Regions from separate parts of the Homo sapiens genome. Here regions 2 and 3 are each linked to region 1. The links are contacts of gene promoters, found by promoter capture Hi-C in blood cells and fetal thymus (Javierre and others, 2016). All regions are on one chromosome and are shown on one strand. Each heading gives the region's core, a stretch centred on a gene start or on the middle of the fragment in contact. The rest is flanking DNA. Distances are from core to core; before and after follow the strand shown. Region 1 holds the start of ZCCHC10 (zinc finger CCHC-type containing 10). Region 2 holds the start of CARINH (colitis associated IRF1 antisense regulator of intestinal homeostasis). Region 3 holds the start of IRF1 (interferon regulatory factor 1).

Region 1 (2,564 bases), core at 43-2,542:
TGAAAAAATCAAGCTGGAGAACACAACATGTAAGAGCCTATTTTTTTGAAGAACAAGTTGTGCTCAAAGGTCACATCATCACCTTCCCTAACTCCTAATCACTCTTTAATCCCTTACTCTGAAATATTTTTCGTTAGAGTACTTATGCCCATGAGAATAGTCTTCATTCATTGTCTGTAGAAAGTTCCATGTGTACACGGATTTTATTTGTTCAAATGCTCTGTCCTCAGCTCCTAAAACATTTTAAGTGTTAATTATTAATTGAAAAAATATGGCTGGGCGCGGTGGCTCACGCCTGTAATCCCAGCACTTTAGGAGGCCGAGGCGGGCGGATTATGAGGTCAGGAGATCGAGACCATCCTGGCCAACATGGTGAAACCCTGTCTCTAGTAAAAATACAAAAATTAGCTGGGCATGGTGGCGCGTGCTTGTCATCCCAGCTATTCGGGAGTGTGAGACAAGAGAATCTCTTGAACCAGGGACCCAGAGGTTGCACTGAGCCGAGATCGCGCCACTGCACTCCAGCCTGGCGACACAGCGAGACTCTGTCTCAAATTAAAAAAAAAAGGAAAAAATATGGATGACCCAGAAACACACACACACTTCAGAAAATTATATATATTTCAGAGAACGTGGGTTTTAAGAGAATAATAGCTCCGTGAGCTGACATTAGATGTAGGTGCAGCTAAAATATTCTAAAATATTTGTATAGTCCTTTTCTGCTTGATAAAGCAGCTTTAGTTATACAGTCCCATTTAGTACTCGTAACAACGCTGTGAAATACATAAAAAACAGAAATAACGTATATGTTTGCACTCCATGGCTTGCTAAAGTCATTCTTTCAATTGATGGTCTCAATCCTGGTCAACTAATTCCTTTCTATTCTCCAGACTACTTCTAGTTTTCTGAACACCAAAGTTTCATTCTTTGTCTTTGTATGTGTATCCCTCGTTCGAGAATGTTGTCCTCATTTTCCACAGATAATGTTCTTGCCTGTAATCATCCTTTGAAACCCTGTTCGGCCCGAGAACCCGAGACCCATACTGGAGACACCGGCCCCTCCCGACCCACCAGTCCCTCCCGTCCCGACCCTCCAGCCCCTCCAGCCCCTCCCCTCCCGACCCTCCAGCCCCTCCCCTCCCGACCCTCCAGCCCCTCCCCTCCCGACCCACCAGCCGGCACTAAGATACCTCCCCTTAGAAGCCTGTCTGGCCCCGCCTACGTCTACGGCCTCCCGGTTGGAAGCCCCGCCCTTCCGAGGAGTTTCCCAAAACCCTGCGCGGCCGGCTTTGACCGCGCTAAGATGGCGACTCCCATGCATCGGCTAATAGCCCGGAGACAAGCGTAAGTAAGGATCCGGTTCGGGTCCACTGGAGGGCTGGGAGCGGGGAAACGCGCGTCAACGGGCTGGTGTCGGACCCCTATTGGGACCGGCGGAGAATGTCCGTTTCTCAAACACTCTTCTGGCTCCCGGGGGGCTCGGGCCCGGGCGATAAGTCTGGTGACCGGGGGTTAGCGATTTCGCGGAAGACAGCCGCGTAAAGTCTGCGGCACGGGACAGAGCGGGGTTTGAAGACAACTGTCGCGTTTGGTTTCTCTGAAAGGAACGCCCACAGTTGGTCACTCAGTGATTTATGCCCCTCCGCCAACCCCACGCGTGGACAGGGGAGCCCTGAAGCCCCGGTCCGACACCTTTATTCCAGCCGACGTAAACCTTCAGTTTCCTATTCAGTGTCCAGCCCAGCTGCCTTTTCCTACTTCCTTATTCTAGCGCCTTCCTTAGGAACACCCTGCCTTCAATGCCGATTGCTTTCCCAGGCTATCTTACCACCTTTTGCTACTCATTCTCTCTTTCAATAAATATTAATTTATTTAGTTCCTACCGTTCTGTGCCAGACATTGGGTATAAATAGAGGTGTTCAAGACAAAATCCTTGCTTTCAGAGAGCTTACATTCTAGTGATGGAAACAGTCGATAAACCACAAATTGTAAATACAGCTGGTGATAACAGCTTTGAAGGAAGTAAGCTGTTGTGATGGAAAGAGGGAAAGGCCCACTTTAGGTTGGTTGGACTGGAAAGGCATCTCTGAAGAGGTGGAATTTGAACAGAGATTTAAAGGATGAAAAAGGAACAGTCATACGAGGATTTTGAGAAAGAGCATCCGGATAGTGGCATAATTGCTTTGAGCCTGAAACTTACTTTTTACAGAACTGAAAGATAGCCATTACGCCTAATGAACAAGAGAGAGTGGCAGAAGAGATTCATAGCTGACAAATAATGCAAGGGTCACCCCAGATGCCCCTTTCTTTTTTTTTTTTTTTTTTTTTTTTTTTTTTGAGGCGGAGTCTTGCTCTGTCTCCCAGGCTGGAGTGCAGAGGTGCAATCTTGGCTCACTGCAAGCTCCGCCCCCCGGGTTCACGCCGTTCCCCTGCCTCAGCCTCCCGAGTAGCTGGGACTACAGGCGCCCGCCACCATGCCCGGCTGGTTTTTTGTATTTTTAGTAGAGATGGGGTTTCACCGTGTTAGCCAGGATGGTCTCGATCCCCTGACCTCGAGATCCGCC
Region 2 (2,564 bases), core at 44-2,543, 620 kb after region 1:
AGGTAGGGCAGCGGCGGACTCCATGTTTTGAAACTTAGGAACTTAGACCATCTTTTGTCAAATTCAGATGGTTTTCTCAAAGTAAAGATCATTCAAGTTTTGTTTCAGTAATGGGCCGTATGATCAGATCTGTGTGATTAGGCTGAATTCATTATTATTGAGACAAAAATTGAGTTAAAGGGGATTCTTGGTATTGGCCTGCAAAACCTGTCATAACTTAAATGTAAAGTTTCTGATGATTTAGTCACTTTACTCTCAGCTCTTAGCTCTTTCACTCACCTGTCCTTGTTCTACACAACCTGCCTGATGGGTAACTTGAATACATATTTTCTCTCTTCAGGGGATGGGAACGCCCTAAGGGCAGGGGCTGTTTCCACAGCCCTGGGGTGGAACCCCCTTCCTGCATACCAAGAATGAGTTGGCTATACTTGACGAAGGGCAAAGACAAGGTGGCACGCATCTTTCATGCTTCTGCTGGCAGATGCAGTGGACTGGAAATTTCCTGGTCTGGGAAGGACTCGGTCTGTGAGTGCACCTATCCCTGACATCTATGCTAGCCCCGGGATGGGGGCCCCAGCAGAGTAAGGCCCTGACTTCACATGGACAGGGCCAGGGCAAGGGGGCCACATCCTGGCCTAGTTGCTCTCCATGCCCGTGATCAAGGGAGATGAGCTGCCAGCTTGCTCGGTCAAGGAACACTTGGAAGGCACTCCAAGTGCCCCCAGGTGCACCAGATCTAGGAAACTTAAGCAAACTACATGAGGTATGGGGTGGGGCCCAGTGGGAAAAATGAGTCTGACAGGTCAGAGGGAGTAGATTATGAGCTCAGGTTAGGCATTCTGTTCAGCATTTTACGTACACCCTCCCACTTTTGATTTTTACCAACACCCAGGGAGGTCGGTGCTCTACAAAAGGGAAAGGCGTGCTCAGGTGGCCCGACTTGCCACGGTTCCAGCTCGACCCCGGGCTGCTAGCCCCTTGGCACGCTTGTCTGAGGCCTCCCAGGTCTTCCAGCCTGGCCTGGAGGCTCAAAGCCACGAAACCCAAGGGTGCCGCTTCTCAGGCCCTCCCCGCCCCCACGGCAGAACCCCTGACCCTGCCCGGGTCAAACGCCTGGCGTCGGGCCCGCCGGGTCCGCAAGGAGGAGCCCGCGAGGCGGCCGCGAAGGGGCTGTGCTTACCTCGCCCGGCGCGGGTTGCGGCCCCAGGGCCCGCGCTCCAGGCTGGCGGCCGCTGCATTCTGCGCCCCTCGCCTGAAACGGCAGCTGCGCCAGTCCTGGCCACGACCGCTTTCATTTTCCTCAACGACATCGGCAGGAAAGCGAAAGCGAAACCCTCCGGGAGGCGGGACCGGGGCCGAGCGCGCAGTGAACGCGGGGCGCGCGGCGGGCGCGGGCCGGCAGCCAGAGGCGGGGGCCCCGGGCTCGGGTCTGCGCGTGGCCTGGCCCGGTGGCGTTCGGGGTGGAGCTGGGCCAGCCGAGTGCCCGAGAGCTAGTCCGCCACGCACACCTGCCTCGGCGGGACCCGGGCCCGGGCTGGGCGGGAGGCTGGGCAGGCCCGCCGTAAGTGGAAAGGCGCCCGCGGCGCTTCGGCCGACCGGGACAGGTTCCTCCATCTGCCCTTCATTCAGCGTTTACTTGGGCCTGTGGCTGGCAGCCGGCCCGGGACCTGACCGCTGGCGGCGCCTCGGGCTCTGGCCTGAGGAGGCAGATGGCAGCCTGAGCAACTGGGACCAAGCCTCTGAGGAGTCCCCGTTGGAGGGGACTTGACCATGAGGTACCAGGCATCTCATCTGGGGTCAGCGGAGAACCCAAAAGTCAATGACGTCGGTGAAATGGGGGTCCCTTCATCCGATAAGAGAAACTGGAACAGCAAGCCTATGGTTTGGACTCCCTGGTCTAAGCGGTGCCCATCAATATCTAAACATTTAGAGATTCCAGGTTTCAGTGTCTGGCCGTCTCTTACTGTCAGTGATTTGGGGCAAAATATTCAAGTAGTTAGACTTAATTACTTCCCCTGTGGGATGGGAATAATAATAATCATACCTACTGCCAGAATTTTAGGAATGAACAATAGAAGGAAGAAAATACTTAAAATTTTCTGACAGCCTCTAAGTGGGTTCCTTGAGGGCAGCAACCAAGTCATTTACCTGGATGCTTGATAGACATTCTCTAATGGCCAGTCCATCAACTTGGAGCTATCTCCATGATAACAGGTTAGTTGTCAAAGTTTGGACAATATTATCTGGAGTTTAAAGACTGAGGAAGCCCTGCAATTTTTTTTGGAAGGTGTCTGAAACTTAGCCTGACAATTAGCCCCCACAATTATGCCACGGAACCAGGTTTTTGTTAGAGTGGAGCATGGCCACAACGTTTGATGGACATTCCTACAGCGGTGTTCAGCGCTGGCCACTGAGGTCTGAAAATACTTTTGCAAGCATTTCTATTCACTTGCTTTTAGAAAACATTGGTAAGACACCATACTCCAAACACAGTTTGCCCTGTCTGTACGTTTGTTGCAAAGCAAACATAAAAGTTTTTGCCATAGAGCAAACACAGAGCAGTC
Region 3 (2,564 bases), core at 17-2,516, 540 kb after region 1:
GAAAATGAACACCCAGTCAAGTCTCTAGGACTATACGTGGGGCGGGGACTAGTTGTGCGCGAGAGTTAAGTAGGGGCCTTACCAAGGAGCATGGGACCTGGGCTCCCCAACCCTTTGGCTAGCCCCATGGCGTTGATCAGCCCTGAGCTAATTCCTCCATGCTGCCCAGAACCTCTCTGGGCCAAGCCCTGGGGACTCAGAGATGACAGCAATGCTTCCATTGCGGAACTCCCATACGCGGGCCACAGGGAGGCTCTGGAGGCGGCCTGAGGCAAGAGTGCTAGGAGGGATCAGAGCTAGCCCACCCCTACCCTCACTCAGCCGTCTGGGCTTCTCTGAACCCCTTCTCCTCCTCTGTTCCCTAAAGCCAGCCAGGGGGAGTCCCAGGGAGGCAGACCGAAAAGGGGTGGGGTGTCATCCTGGTCACTATTAGACCCTGCAACGGCGACCTTGAAAACTACTCAGCGTCTGTTGCCCGAGTGGAGCATAGTGCTTTACAATCTCTTCCCATCACAGCAAACCATCAAGGTAGGGCTACTATTATTTTATGGTTGAAAAACAGAGGTCCTGCGTCCCTTGGGGGCTGTGCCAGCAGCGGCCAAGTTGGGATTTCCCCTGGTCCAGCAGCCCCAGACAGCACACGGGGCAGGGTAGGCTTTCTGCCTTCTTCACTTCCCCAGGGCAGGTGAGTGACCTGGAGGGAGGGGGTCACCCCTAAAAACAGGGGTAGTGCTAGGACTGAAACCCTCCCTTCTTGATATCCCACTGGCAAGCTTGAGGAGCCAGGCTGCCAGTCGGGAGATTCGGCCCAGTGTTCCCACTGGAGAGGGCGGCAAGTGCCCGGGCGATCCCCTCACCTGCGTTCGGGAGATATACCCCCGCCCCCGCCCCGCCAGGAGGGTGAAAAGATGGCCCCAGGAGCCAGCCGGCTGGGACAAGGCGGAGTGAGAGGACAGGCTGGGGCCAGGGGCGCTGGGCTGTCCCGGGCAGCCCTCCTCCGGGCAAGCCGGAGCAGGGGTGGATTGGGAGCGCTCGGGGCGGGCCCGCGGTGGCCCCGGGGCGGTGGCGCCCGGCCGGAGAGGGTGGGGCGGAGCAGCCGCCCTGTACTTCCCCTTCGCCGCTAGCTCTACAACAGCCTGATTTCCCCGAAATGACGGCACGCAGCCGGCCAATGGGCGCCCGCGCGGCTGTCCGGGGGCGGGGCCGGCCAGGGCTGGGGAATCCCGCTAAGTGTTTGGATTGCTCGGTGGCGCCGCTGCCCTGGCAGAGCTCGCCACTCCTTAGTCGAGGCAAGACGTGCGCCCGAGCCCCGCCGAACCGAGGCCACCCGGAGCCGTGCCCAGTCCACGCCGGCCGTGCCCGGCGGCCTTAAGAACCCGGCAACCTCTGCCTTCTTCCCTCTTCCACTCGGAGTCGCGCTCCGCGCGCCCTCACTGCAGCCCCTGCGTCGCCGGGACCCTCGCGCGCGACCGCCGAATCGCTCCTGCAGCAGAGGTGAGTACGCCTTTGAGGCGCGGGGCACCGGCGGCGTCGAATAAAAGGCGCGCGGGGCACCAGGAAGTGGGGGGTCGAAAGCTCCAGGCTGGAGACTCGCCGGCGCGCGGCGTTGCCCGGGCCTCCGCGCGGGCTCCGGGGGGCGCCGGAGGAGCTGCGAGCCGCGGGCCGCGGCGCGGGGAGGGCGGGACGCGGCGTGGACCGCCCACCCGGACGAGGCTGCCGGCGCCCGGCAGCTTTCGCAGATCTGCGTGCGCGCAGCCGCCAGGGGCCTGTAGGTGGCCCGCTATGTTCGTCCCGCGCATCCACACGCCGTGCCGGGGACCGAGTGTCAGCCCACGCGTGGGCGCCCAGTGCTCCCGGCTTTCGGCGGTCCCAGCTCCGCGCCCAGGCGACAGGTTTTGGGCTCCCTGTGCTGGTGGCAAGGGCTGGCTTACTGCCCAGGTGGCTGGAGGGAATCGTGACCTACGGAGACTGCGGGAAGAGGCGCCACAGGTGTTCCTTGGGCCACTTCTCCAGAGGAGGGGAAACCGGGCCGGAAGGGTTAGCGTCCTGGTCTTAGCGTTGTGGGCGCTGTGGCTGTCAGGAAGGCGTAGAATGGATTCAGGGGGGCGGGAGGGGGCTGTTCAGGGTGACGGCTAGCCCTTTGCTAGCTAGTGGTTACAACTCAAGTCAAGGGAATTTCTTCTTGGCATCAAGCAAAAGAAGTCCCTCCCTTCCCAAAGGATTTGAATTTTGAGCGAAAAGTTCTGAAATTAGGGTATCTGTGCATTTTGTCTCTTTTCCTGCATATGAATCCTGAAGCCATCACTTGCATGCCTGTCTCCTCCAGAGACTGGCTGGGAGGGGCTGAAGGAAGGGGCAAAAGCATTTTTGCCTAAGATGCTGAAAAAATTTGGAGAGCAGTTTTATTCCAGCGCAGCTCCCCTCCGCACTGAGTGTAGTACCTAGCAGCTGGCTGAGGTGAGGGGAGGGTAACTAAGTGACCTCGGGTGGGGCAGGTCACTGCCCAGGTACTGTTCAACAGATTCCAGACTGGAGCCTCTGTGTTCTCTTTACAGCCAACATGC

Evidence for each region. Contacts are between HindIII fragments. The CHiCAGO score rates a contact against its expected background, and 5 or more counts as called.
Region 2: a contact is called between the fragment with the promoter of CARINH here and the fragment with the promoter of ZCCHC10 in region 1, in 2 of 17 cell types (neutrophils and monocytes). The highest score is 6.3, in neutrophils.
Region 3: the fragment with the promoter of IRF1 here is called in contact with the fragment with the promoter of ZCCHC10 in region 1 in 1 of 17 cell types (monocytes); the score reaches 7.2 in monocytes.

What each region holds. Positions count from the first base shown.
Region 1 is chr5:133,025,277-133,027,840 of GRCh38, reverse strand. ZCCHC10 (zinc finger CCHC-type containing 10) reads left to right here and starts at 1,292. Exons shown (of 5, transcript NM_001300816.3): 1 at 1,292-1,344. The coding sequence starts at 1,304. RefSeq lists a silencer at 1,013-1,142 and an enhancer at 1,223-1,532. The HindIII fragment of the contact is 6,187 bases long and covers 1-2,564 here.
Region 2 is chr5:132,409,658-132,412,221 of GRCh38, reverse strand. It overlaps CARINH (colitis associated IRF1 antisense regulator of intestinal homeostasis), which reads right to left and starts at 1,293. Exons shown (of 4, transcript NR_161242.1): 1 at 1,181-1,293. RefSeq lists silencers at 995-1,284, 1,355-1,654 and an enhancer at 1,895-1,944. The HindIII fragment of the contact is 5,230 bases long and covers 1-2,564 here.
Region 3 is chr5:132,489,475-132,492,038 of GRCh38, reverse strand. IRF1 (interferon regulatory factor 1) reads left to right here and starts at 1,266. Exons shown (of 10, transcript NM_002198.3): 1 at 1,266-1,494; 2 at 2,556-2,564. The coding sequence starts at 2,561. RefSeq lists enhancers at 15-64, 105-314, 1-451, 585-724, 1,746-2,393 and silencers at 865-1,314, 1,575-1,854, 2,385-2,434. The HindIII fragment of the contact is 1,939 bases long and covers 776-2,564 here.